Regions from separate parts of the Homo sapiens genome. Here regions 1 and 2 are each linked to region 3. The links are contacts of gene promoters, found by promoter capture Hi-C in human tissues and cell types (Jung and others, 2019). All regions are on one chromosome and are shown on one strand. Each heading gives the region's core, a stretch centred on a gene start or on the middle of the fragment in contact. The rest is flanking DNA. Distances are from core to core; before and after follow the strand shown.

Region 1 (3,645 bases), core at 391-2,890, 68 kb before region 3:
TTATGTCCTTTGATCAACATCTCCTAATTTCCTTCCATACCCCCAAACCCTGGCAACCACCATTCTACTCTCTGTTCTATGGGTTTGACTATTTTAGATTCCACATGTCAGTAAGACAGATCATGCAGTATTTGTCTTTCTGTGTCTGGCTGAGTTCATTTAGTATAACGTCCTTCAAGTTCATCTGTGTTGTTGCAAATGGCAGGATTTCATTTTTTTAAGGCTAAATAATATTCATACACGTATCAAATATTTTCTTCATCCACTCATTTTCATAGCCTATTTTCTGAGTTAAATATTCCTAGTTCTTTTCATTTTGCCTTCCTTGACTTTTTTCTATTTCTATAACAATTCTTTCTTTTATCTGAACATGCTGCACTCTATACCTTAATATGATTCCGAGAGATAAGGTGTAAATACTCTGGTTGTGAACTGAAAAGTACAAGGTAATTCCTCTTTTGAGTTTCCATAACATATTTCCTGAACCCATAGTAATATTTATCAGTGTCTTCACTGTCTCTCTTTTCTCTTCCATAAACTTCTTAATATAAAATCCAGTTCCTTTTCAATTTTGTGTCACCTACAATGTAAGTGCATATAAATAAATTAGTGGTCAATGAATATCACAAATCAAAGGTGTCGTAGGCTGTGCAGTGTCACTCAGATATGTGCATGTCCTGATCCTGAAACCCATGAACATGTTGCTTTACATTGCAAAAGGGACTTCACAAATGCAATTAACTTAAGCATCTTGAGATGGGGGGATTATTCTGGATTATCTGGGTAGGGACAGTGTAATCATGAAAGAGAAAAGGAAATGTGACAATGGAAGCAAAGGCCAGACTTATTCAGGGCCATGAACCAAGGAATGCTGGCAGCCTCTAATAGCTGGAAAAGGCAAGGAAACAGATTTTCCCATTCCAGAAGGAAAGCATCCCTGTGACCCATTTTAAACAGCTGACATTCAGAACTGTTAAATAAGAAATCTGTGTTGTTTTAAGCCATTAAATTTGTGATAATTTTTTACAAGAGCAAGAGAAAACCAATACAGAATGGAACGATAATTAACTTTAAACATATTTCATTGAATATTGTTCCAAAATAATACCTTTAAAAAGTATTTCTTCCATGGATTAATAAAACACACAATAATCAAGGTGTCCTATACTATACACATGTTATTTGTTATATAATTTTGCTTATGTAACAATTAAACAGAAACCAAGATTTTAAAATATCAGAAATTATATAAATGTTTTTAGGCAGCATTTTCTTTGCTTTATTTTTTAAGAACATTTTATCCAAAATATTTTCATTTTGCAGTAGTGAATAAGCAAAATATGAGCAATGGTGAAACTCTAGAGTTCATCATTCTTATGTGTTAATTGAAAAATAATTGCAAACAAACCGAAACTAAAATCACCAAGGTTTTATATTTAAAATAACTACATTAACAGATTATTGTAATTCCGGAAACCTTTTCACTAATTAGTTTCTCTGGATATACAGACAAAAAGGGACGTGTGAATTTTCTTTAAGCTCATCAAATTCCTCCTGGAGTAATAACTTCTCATTTGTAGTCTGAGTGCTTCATTCAGTGCACCATTTGTCAAATCTGAGACGAGATATGAAATCTAATAGCTTTACACAAGGAACTGAAAGTCAAGAGGAAGCTCCATTCACTAACAGTCTATTATGGAGCCAAAGTCTATAAAATTCCTTTAATTTGCTCATATTCGCAATTAGATTACACTGGAAAATCGATCAAGATTTTATTTTCTAATTTATAGTTCACATTTTGCTACATGTTATATTCAACCATTTCCTTACTGTATGAGAAAATATTCACACAAGATTTTATAGTGATATGTGAAATTAATTTCAAAGTAGATAATCTATATACAGTGAATGGCAAAGATTTACCAGTGATTTTCATATGTTTATGTTTATGCCTGCTCCCGCTTTAACTTAGCAATTGGTTCCCAACTTGACCATATGTTAAGCAGGAAGGAAAAAATGAAAGAATTATCTGGATAATTCAAAACCACTTAGATGTAATATATGAAATTGTGTTGATGATACATAAGTAAAATCACATTCTTAGAAGATTATTATAGCCTGAGATATACTCTGTGACTTAAATGTATCAAGTTCTCACAGGAAAGATTTGTATCAAACATTACAGTGTAGTAATGTTAAAGACTGGAGCTATGCAATGGACCACATAATTACATCCAAAAAATACATGAGGCAATTTTTAGGCAAGTACAATCCAACACTTACTTTAATTTGAAATGTTCAAATATATGAAATTACTAAAAGCTTTAAAGCCAAAGGGGTATGGGTTTAACCATTTGTAAGTTGTGTGAGTTTCAGCAAATTCTTTAGCCTCTGGCTATCGCACCTACCTCATTTTATCATGATGCCTACATAACACATGGACCACATAAGAGCAGGACTTTTGTCTGTGTTGTTCACCTCTCCATTTGCAGTGGCTAGCACAGCAAAAGCAGTAAGTCTTCATTAATTATTGTTGAATAAATGAATAAACTAGTGATCAGCATATAGCTCACTTAAAAGATAGTCATTAATATTAGATTTACAACTTCCTTAATTGTCCCTGATTAAGTTGCATTCTGTCCAGAAATATCTGATATCAGAGATAAGCACTTGAATTACCATGATATTTGCCCCTATTTCCTACATTTATTTGCATGTGAATATAAAGGATGTGTATGTGCTTATATGTATTAAAGTAACATGAAGTGCTATCATTTGTTAGCTGTGACATTTGAAAGATTTAACACCACAGCCTTTCTCTACACCTTCACAGTCTTCTCCATTCTCCCAGGGGTTGGAGAGATGACGTTTATAAATTACACCCACCTTCTTTCTTCACAGTTTAATATACGGGCTACATTGAACCCCAAGAGAAGATAGGAAAAAGATTATGGCTCTGTGCCCAGAAGGAAGAAGAACCCTGTTTGGTGAACAACAAGCTATTCTCTATCACAGTCTGCCCTTATGGTCACCAATTACCTATTCATTTCTCCTCCCACACGTACTCACACAAAACTCACTTCTTTCCCAAGTAAAACAATACGAAGCCCCATCTAGTCAGAGCATTGAGAAAAATTCCAAAATATGACATGCCATTCTTCGTAAGAGGTCATGCAGTCAAGATGTACTTCTGTAAGGTCTAATGACTTATTAAGTAGGAGATAAATTATCTCTTTCCCCTGACACACAATATTAAATAGTGGAACAGGAATAGGAAAATTGCAATAAACACTCCTACTCAGAAAGGACAAAGAGAAACCCAAAGTAGTCCCTGGTCTCTATCAATTCTGATATTCTGCTAGGCCGATGATAGAATTTGGATGTGCCGCTCTCATGGTGAAATGTGACCTCCAGTGTTTGAAGTGGGCCAAGTGGGAGTTGTTTGGGTCATGCGGGCAGATCCCTCATGAATGACCTCCTGCCATCCCCATGGTAATGAGTGAGTTCTTGCTCTGGTTGTTAATGAGAAGGCTGGTTGTTTAAAGGATCCTGGTACCTCCTCCGATTAACCCCTCTCTCGCATGTGGCATGCCTGCTCCCCATTTACCTTCTACCATGAGTAAAATCCTTTTGAGAACCTCACCA
Region 2 (3,288 bases), core at 772-3,271, 96 kb before region 3:
AAAAAAAAAGAAAACTTTGAAGGTAGCTTGATAGAAGTATCGCATCTTCTATCACAGTAGGGCACATATGACTGAAGATCATACCTATGTTTTCGTTGTTAAGAATTGCTGTTGTAACACTAATTAAATGCTCAACCATACCAGGACCTTAAGCTAAGGTAAGAGAGCTAGAGGGGAAGGAGTGGAGTCTTAATGTTACATGTCTGACTGGGGACACCCTAGACAATATGAATGAGGCTAAAAGTTATGCATTCTCAAATACCATGAAGCTCTTTTGCTAGTAGAAACAGTGCTATCCACACTCACCCTTTTGAGAACACCAGCCTTGCCCTGTATAAACCTTTAAATTACTGCACCTATGTCATTTGCCATATAAAGAGACTTAAACTCACCATTGGAAGTTGTCTTCTGTCTCATAATATAAGAATAAACATAGATAGCATAGTAAGATTCAAAATCTACTTAAGAAGGAAATAACTCATACTCCAACAGAGTTAGAAAATCTTGCCAATCTATTTATATAGAAACCTTGGAAGCATGTGTGGGAGTGGATTGTGAAGGTGTTAGACCAAATGTGATGAGATATAGAGTCGTTCAGGCTGAAGTCATTGACTCCGGTGCACTTATCTGGGATTTGAGTTTTCATATGTTGGCTTCAGCACCTGGGGTCATTAATTAATTAATAATAACCTGATATGCTAGCTATTTGAAACCTGAAACCATCTGTGGCCAAAATAAAGTATGGATGAAGATCTGGAACTCCTCTTTTTACTCCTGTAAAACTGTGATTTTTAAAGATTAATGGGCATTGGAATTAATGAGGGATGTTTTTAAAAATGCAGTTTCTTATTCAGTAGGCATGAAGTGAGGACTGAAATTCTGCATTTCTAACAAAATATCAAAGTCATCCTGATGTTGCTGGTGTGGAGCTCACACTTTGAGAATGAGATTTAAGTTTGCACTTCTAAGGAAAAATAAAAACCTTTTTTTAAAAAACTAAATTCTCTCAGTTGAAAACGAGGAAAGATTTCCCCTCCCACCCTTTTTCTTACACCATTCACTTTAGGAAACTTACAATTATAAGTATTTTCTCCTCTCTTTGACACTTATATAAATCTTTTTGAAAACTATGTAGGACTTTTGTCAACTTTATAAACCAGGGAAGTCTTTCTCAAAACCTGAGTTTCTTTGACATGTAAAACATCAAAGAAGATAGCATCCTTCTCTCTCCATTTTTGTGGGAGGGTGGGATCTAACTTAGGATCTTGTTCCAAGTTGCAGAACTATCTCTTGTAATAAAAATGTAAGAAGTTAATTTTTCCTTTGGTGAGAGACAACTAGCTAACACACATAGTTACCCCAACTACCAAGTGAATTTAGGATATATTGTGTGTAACAAAAGTGTCAAGTCCTCTTACTTGAGGATTAGTTACTGTTAATCTTGAGAACATGTACAAAATGGGTTGTACCTGCTCAGCTATGTAAAAGGGTAAGATTTCTTTCTGTCTTCACAATTTCTTGGTGGATTGCCTGTGATGTATATGAAATTCTGATTTAATGCTTATTTAATAATAAAACTATTTTCTGTCTCTGTTAGCTTTTTGGAGAGGTGTGTTAGTTTGTTTTGCATTGTTATAAAGGAACACTTGAGACTGGGTAATTTATAAAGAAAAGAGGTTTATTTGGCTTATGTTTCTACAGGCTGTACAAGCATGGCACCAGCATCTGCTTGGTTTCTGGTGAGGCTTCACAAAGCTTTGACACATGGCAGAAGGTAAAGGAGGAGCAGGCATCTCACATGACAAGAGAGGGAGCAAGAGAGAGAGGAGAGGCCATGCTGTTTTTTAACTACCAGCTCTTGTGTGAAGCAATAGAGCAAGAACTCATTTATCACCAAAAGGATGGTGCTAAGCCATCAATGAGGGATCTACCCCCATGACTCAAACACCTCCCACCAGGCCTCACCTCCAATACTGAGGATCACATTTCAATATGAGATTTTGAGGGGACAAATATTCAAACCATATCAAGGTTTCCTTTTGTTGGGGGGCAGATTTTGAGAAGATTTTGTTTTTAAATTATATTTCCCTAAAATCCTCTACCGCTCAACCCATGCACACCCCCATTGTTTCGTGTATCTGACCGTTAGCATGTTTAATTTTCATCTATTCCTTTTTTTCCAAGGCAGAGACAAAAAAGCTCCAGTTCAAAGCAACTACATCCAAATGTTCTTGGTGCCAAAATGTTATGTGCCTACACTTTGTCACATCCTTACAGAATTTCTTTCTTTTTTCAAGCTTCAGATTAATGCTTCCAAAACAAAAGCTGCTTTTGTCCATGCTGAGCATATGTTCTACTTAACATCATTGTACTTGACATGCAAGGCATTCTGAAGGAGTGACAAATCCAGGGAAGTGTATACATTTTTAAAAGATCTAGACAAGTGCAAGGTTTAGAATCTGAGGTTATTTCAAATAAAAGGAATGTCAGTGTTCTAGTTTCAGAGAGAGTCATTATTTAATGACACAGAGACTCTGGCGCGCAGAAAGGAACAGGCCAGTAATGGCTGTTAATAGCCAGGTCCAAAGGCCAAGTAGATACAAGAAGGAAAAACAGACATGGCAAGGAATGTTATAGGTCACAAGTTCTGGATGCAGACTTGATAATTCAAATACAGATTTCACCACTTATTGTGTGACAGTATCACTATTGCCTTTGTGAAACGTTCTAAAGTGGAGGTTTCTTCAGCACCCACCAAGATAAAACCCACAATGTCTGACGTCCAATAAAAATATTATCATGCATGAAGGAAGTAGTAAAATATGGCCCAGAATGAGGAGAAAAACTCAATAAGTTGAAGCTGACCCAGTAATGACCCAGACGACAGAATCAGTAAACAAGGACAGTGAATCAGCTTTATAGTTGTATTCCATGCTCAATAAGCTATTTGAATAAGTTAGCTGAGACACAAAAAATATAAAAATGACTCAAGTCAAACTTTAGAGATAAAAAACCTGCAACATCCAATAGGAAAAATACTTTGGATGGAATCAACAACATATTAACCTTGCAGAAGAAAAGATTAGTGAAATTGAAGACATAACAATAAAAGTATCCAAAATAAAACAGAGAGAAAAGAGACTTACAAATGATCAGAGGGTGGTGTAGGCACTCTGAACCATGTGCTCGTACTCAATATTCATGGCACAGACCTCTGGGATTCATCCCGAGATCTGTCATCTTAAACTTCACCCTCTTCCAGAGACAGAGCTCAGGAGACCAGGAAAT
Region 3 (3,561 bases), core at 795-3,294:
TATTTTAAAGTATGTTCAAGTTATAGTGTGTTTTCTGCAGTATTGCGAAGTCTTCCTTTCTGATCTCCTTGCATACCTTTTTTGGGCTGGTTTCAGTCTATTCACCATACCATAACCAGAGTGATGAAACCTAAGTAAAGCTCTTTAATGGCCTCACATTAAAGATCAGGATCCCTAACTTGGTAAAATGGGCCCTGTATGAAAGCATGACCCCTTCTCTCTCACACATACACACACTCTGGGCTCATGTTATGTGACTCATTTTCTCACTCACAGTCACATTGGCCTGACTTTAAGTTCCTTAAAATGTTCCATATTTCTGCCTGCTTCAGGCCTTTTATACATCAGACCCCATGTGCCATGGTCACTACATGAAATTTCTTTTCTGATAAAGATTTTCCTGTCTATTCCTCAGTCTGGATCAAGGTCTCATCCCCAGCCTCATCCCACAGTCTCAGGGCTTACTTTGCTTTTCCTTTTTGGCACATTTTACACTTGGTAATATGATGATATATGAGAAGTATCTATATCCTCTCCTAGGCTTGTAAGCTTGGTGAGAGCAACATGGTATTAGCTACTTTATCTCAATATGTTAAACAGGAACTAGTTGAGAAAAAGGGGAAAGAAGAAATGAAGGAAGAAAAGGGAAGTGAGAAAGCTTTCTTAAAGGTCAGAAAGTTTTCTACATTGGGAGATTTAATTGTTTTATCTTTAGTATTTTGTAAAAATCCACTCACTTTAAGGGCAGGAGTTATTTTTCTCCCTTAAAACAAAGAGTATTGACAGAATATATTCACATTGGGGGGATTTTGTTCCATGATGTAATGGATTTGTGAAACAACATTAAAACAAAAAAGAAAACTAGAAAAATGCAAGTAGGGTTTGTAAACTATTAATTTCTTTTCCTCTCTCTTCTTCCTCCTTTCCTACACTCTGATCCCTGTCATAATATTTTTACAAACTCTGAGAAGAAAAAAAGTTTAAATTTATTCTCAGGGGCAAAAGATTACTAAAACACAAACTGTTACTCTTTTATATAGTTTCAGCAGCTTTAACATTTGAAAATGCAAATAGCCTTAAGTTAAAAAAAATCTAGTTGGTGTTTCAATTTTGTATATATCATTTTGATAATAAAATCATTTCTTTAGGCCAAATAAAGAAAAAACAAAGTTTCATGTTTATAAAACAATTGCCAAGCTACAGATACAACAGATATCTTCTCTTTATCCCTCTCTCTTCTCTTCCTCTCATCTCTTCCTGAGTCTCATCAAAGCACTCATGCCAAGAAACCACTTTATCCAGGGAAGGTGGCCACATAACCCAAGAAACAGCAATTGATCTACAAATGCTGACAGTGAGATACAAGCTCTGGAAAATGAACTGACCAAACTGGAAACAGCATGTTGAATAACTGGAAGGATTTTTCCTCTCAAATTCTAGGATTTCTTTTTTTCTTTTTCTTTAGACAGGGTCTCCCTCTGTCACTCAAGCTGGAGTGCAGTGGTGCTATCTCAGCTCACTGCAGTTTCTGCCTGCAGGGCCCAGGCGATCCTCCCACCTCAGCCTCCTGAGTAGCTGGGACTACAAGCATGTGCCACCATGCCCAGCTATTTGATATATATATATTTTTTTTTTTGTAGAGACAGCATTTCACTATATTGCCCAGGCTGGCCTCGAACTCCTGAGCTCAAGAGATTCTCCTGCCTGGAAATAACCTCTTTTATACTTAAAGCAAAGCTGAAAGCAAGAGTTCCTAGCCCAAGATGGCTAGCAGAAAGGAAGCAGCAGCTGTGCAGTTGGGGCGGGGCCCAATTCCTTCCCTGGCCGCCAGGGGGAGTCTACCCACAGCTGACTCTGCTCACCTTAAGCGCGCCACTTGGCGCAGGCGCTGAGGCGCCAGACGTCCCTGCGTCTCTGGTTGGGACGTCCTGAAAGAGAGTCGTCACATCCTCCTCAGGACTCTATGGTTCCGGCCTCAGGACTCTATGGTTCCCGCGAGGGACGAGGGGCAACGTATATAAATGCGCGCAGGCGTAGTTAAGAGAGCGCATTTTGACTTCGAGGCACCGCCGACGTTACTGTGTCGCCATGGGGCGCCGTCCAGCTCGCTGTTACCGGTATTGTAAGAACAAGCCGTACCCAAAATCTCGTTTCTGCCGAGGGGTTCCTGATGCCAAGATCCGCATCTTTGACCTGGGTAGAAAGAAGGCAAAAGTGGATGAGTTCCCACTCGGTGGCCACATGGTGTCTGATGAATATGAGCAGCTGTCTTCTGAAGCCCTGGAGGCCGCCCGTATTTGTGCCAACAAATACATGGTGAAAAGTTGTGGCAGAGATGGCTTTCACATGCGAGTGCGGCTCCATCCCTTCCATGTCATCCGCATCAACAAGATGTTGTCCTGTGCTGGGGCTGACAGGCTCCAGACAGGTATGCGAGGTGCCTTTGGAAAACCCCAGGGTACTGTAGCCCGGGTCCACATTGGTCAAGTCATCATGTCCATCCGCACCAAGCTTCAGAACGAGGAGCATGTGATTGAAGCCTTGCGCAGGGCCAAGTTCAAGTTCCCTGGACGCCAGAAGATTCATATCTCCAAGAAGTGGGGCTTCACGAAGTTTAATGCTGACGAATTTGAAGACATGGTGGCCAAGAAGTGCCTCATCCCTGATGGTTGTGGAGTCAAGTACGTTCCCAGTCATGGCCCCTTGGACAAGTGGCGGGTTCTGCACTCATGAAGGTTTTGGCAGTACTGTCTCCTTGGGCCATGCTGGTCTGACTTATGCTTACTAATAAATTCTGTTTACTGGCAAAAAATAACTCCTTATTAAGTTTTAATATTTTTTAAATATCCAATGTTTTAGAATATAGACTACTAGAGAATTTTTTTCTATTTATTCAGTTTTAATGGCAAATGTTACCTTCCTTGCTTCAGTAAAACTATACAATTTATAGAGAAAGCTGTTTTAAGCAAACACTTTAAATTTAGGAGAGTATAGAGCAATATGTTGAAAGTTTTGTTTGTAGTAAAGTCATAAGTTATGCAGCTATCATTCCTTGAATAAAAAATAGATTTGAGTGAAAAAATTTGTTTATAGAATATAAACTAAACAGTAGCGATGAAAATAATAGTAGGCATTAGTGATATTTCACCCACAGCCTCTTTGGAAGTAATTTATTTCTAAACTTGGTTGCCTTATGTTTTTCTATAAATTTCTGTACATTGTTTTTAGAATTACCTTACACGTCTGATTATCAGCCTTAGGACAATTGAGTATCACTCTGAAAGGCTTTTCCAGACGAACTTTACATTGTCTCACAGTCAAGAGATAACAGTCTAATCTTTTTTTCATCATAGAAAGGTCATAGGTGACAACAGAGTTCATATTACTTGTATCTGGGCTCCAGTAGAACCAAAAGAAGAGAGAAAATGACACTAAATCGGTTATCTGTGCTATAAAAGGACCCTAAAGAGAGTTTGCAATTGTAGGTGCTTGCCCTGAATTAGAGTTACGTTGATGACACAGGTGCTTTTTGTTTTATTTTTGAAACTACATAAGCTAAAA

Evidence for each region. Contacts are between HindIII fragments. The study calls those that stand out against the background at their distance.
Region 1: a contact is called between a fragment that was not itself captured here and the fragment with the promoter of RPL10L in region 3, in 2 of the 25 tissues and cell types used here (dorsolateral prefrontal cortex and liver).
Region 2: a contact is called between a fragment that was not itself captured here and the fragment with the promoter of RPL10L in region 3, in 3 of the 25 tissues and cell types used here (adrenal gland, small bowel and spleen).

The regions. Positions count from the first base shown.
Region 1 is chr14:46,717,546-46,721,190 of GRCh38, reverse strand. No RefSeq gene overlaps it. Among named protein-coding and RNA genes, the nearest start is that of RPL10L, 68 kb to the right of the region's middle. The HindIII fragment of the contact is 9,502 bases long and covers 1-3,645 here.
Region 2 is chr14:46,746,484-46,749,771 of GRCh38, reverse strand. No RefSeq gene overlaps it. Among named protein-coding and RNA genes, the nearest start is that of RPL10L, 96 kb to the right of the region's middle. The HindIII fragment of the contact is 3,035 bases long and covers 504-3,288 here.
Region 3 is chr14:46,650,264-46,653,824 of GRCh38, reverse strand. RPL10L (ribosomal protein L10 like) reads left to right here and starts at 2,044. Exons shown (of 1, transcript NM_080746.3): 1 at 2,044-2,815. The coding sequence starts at 2,089. The coding sequence ends at 2,733. The region is part of intron 3 of LOC105370481 (a long non-coding RNA gene); the gene reads left to right. The HindIII fragment of the contact is 6,030 bases long and covers 151-3,561 here.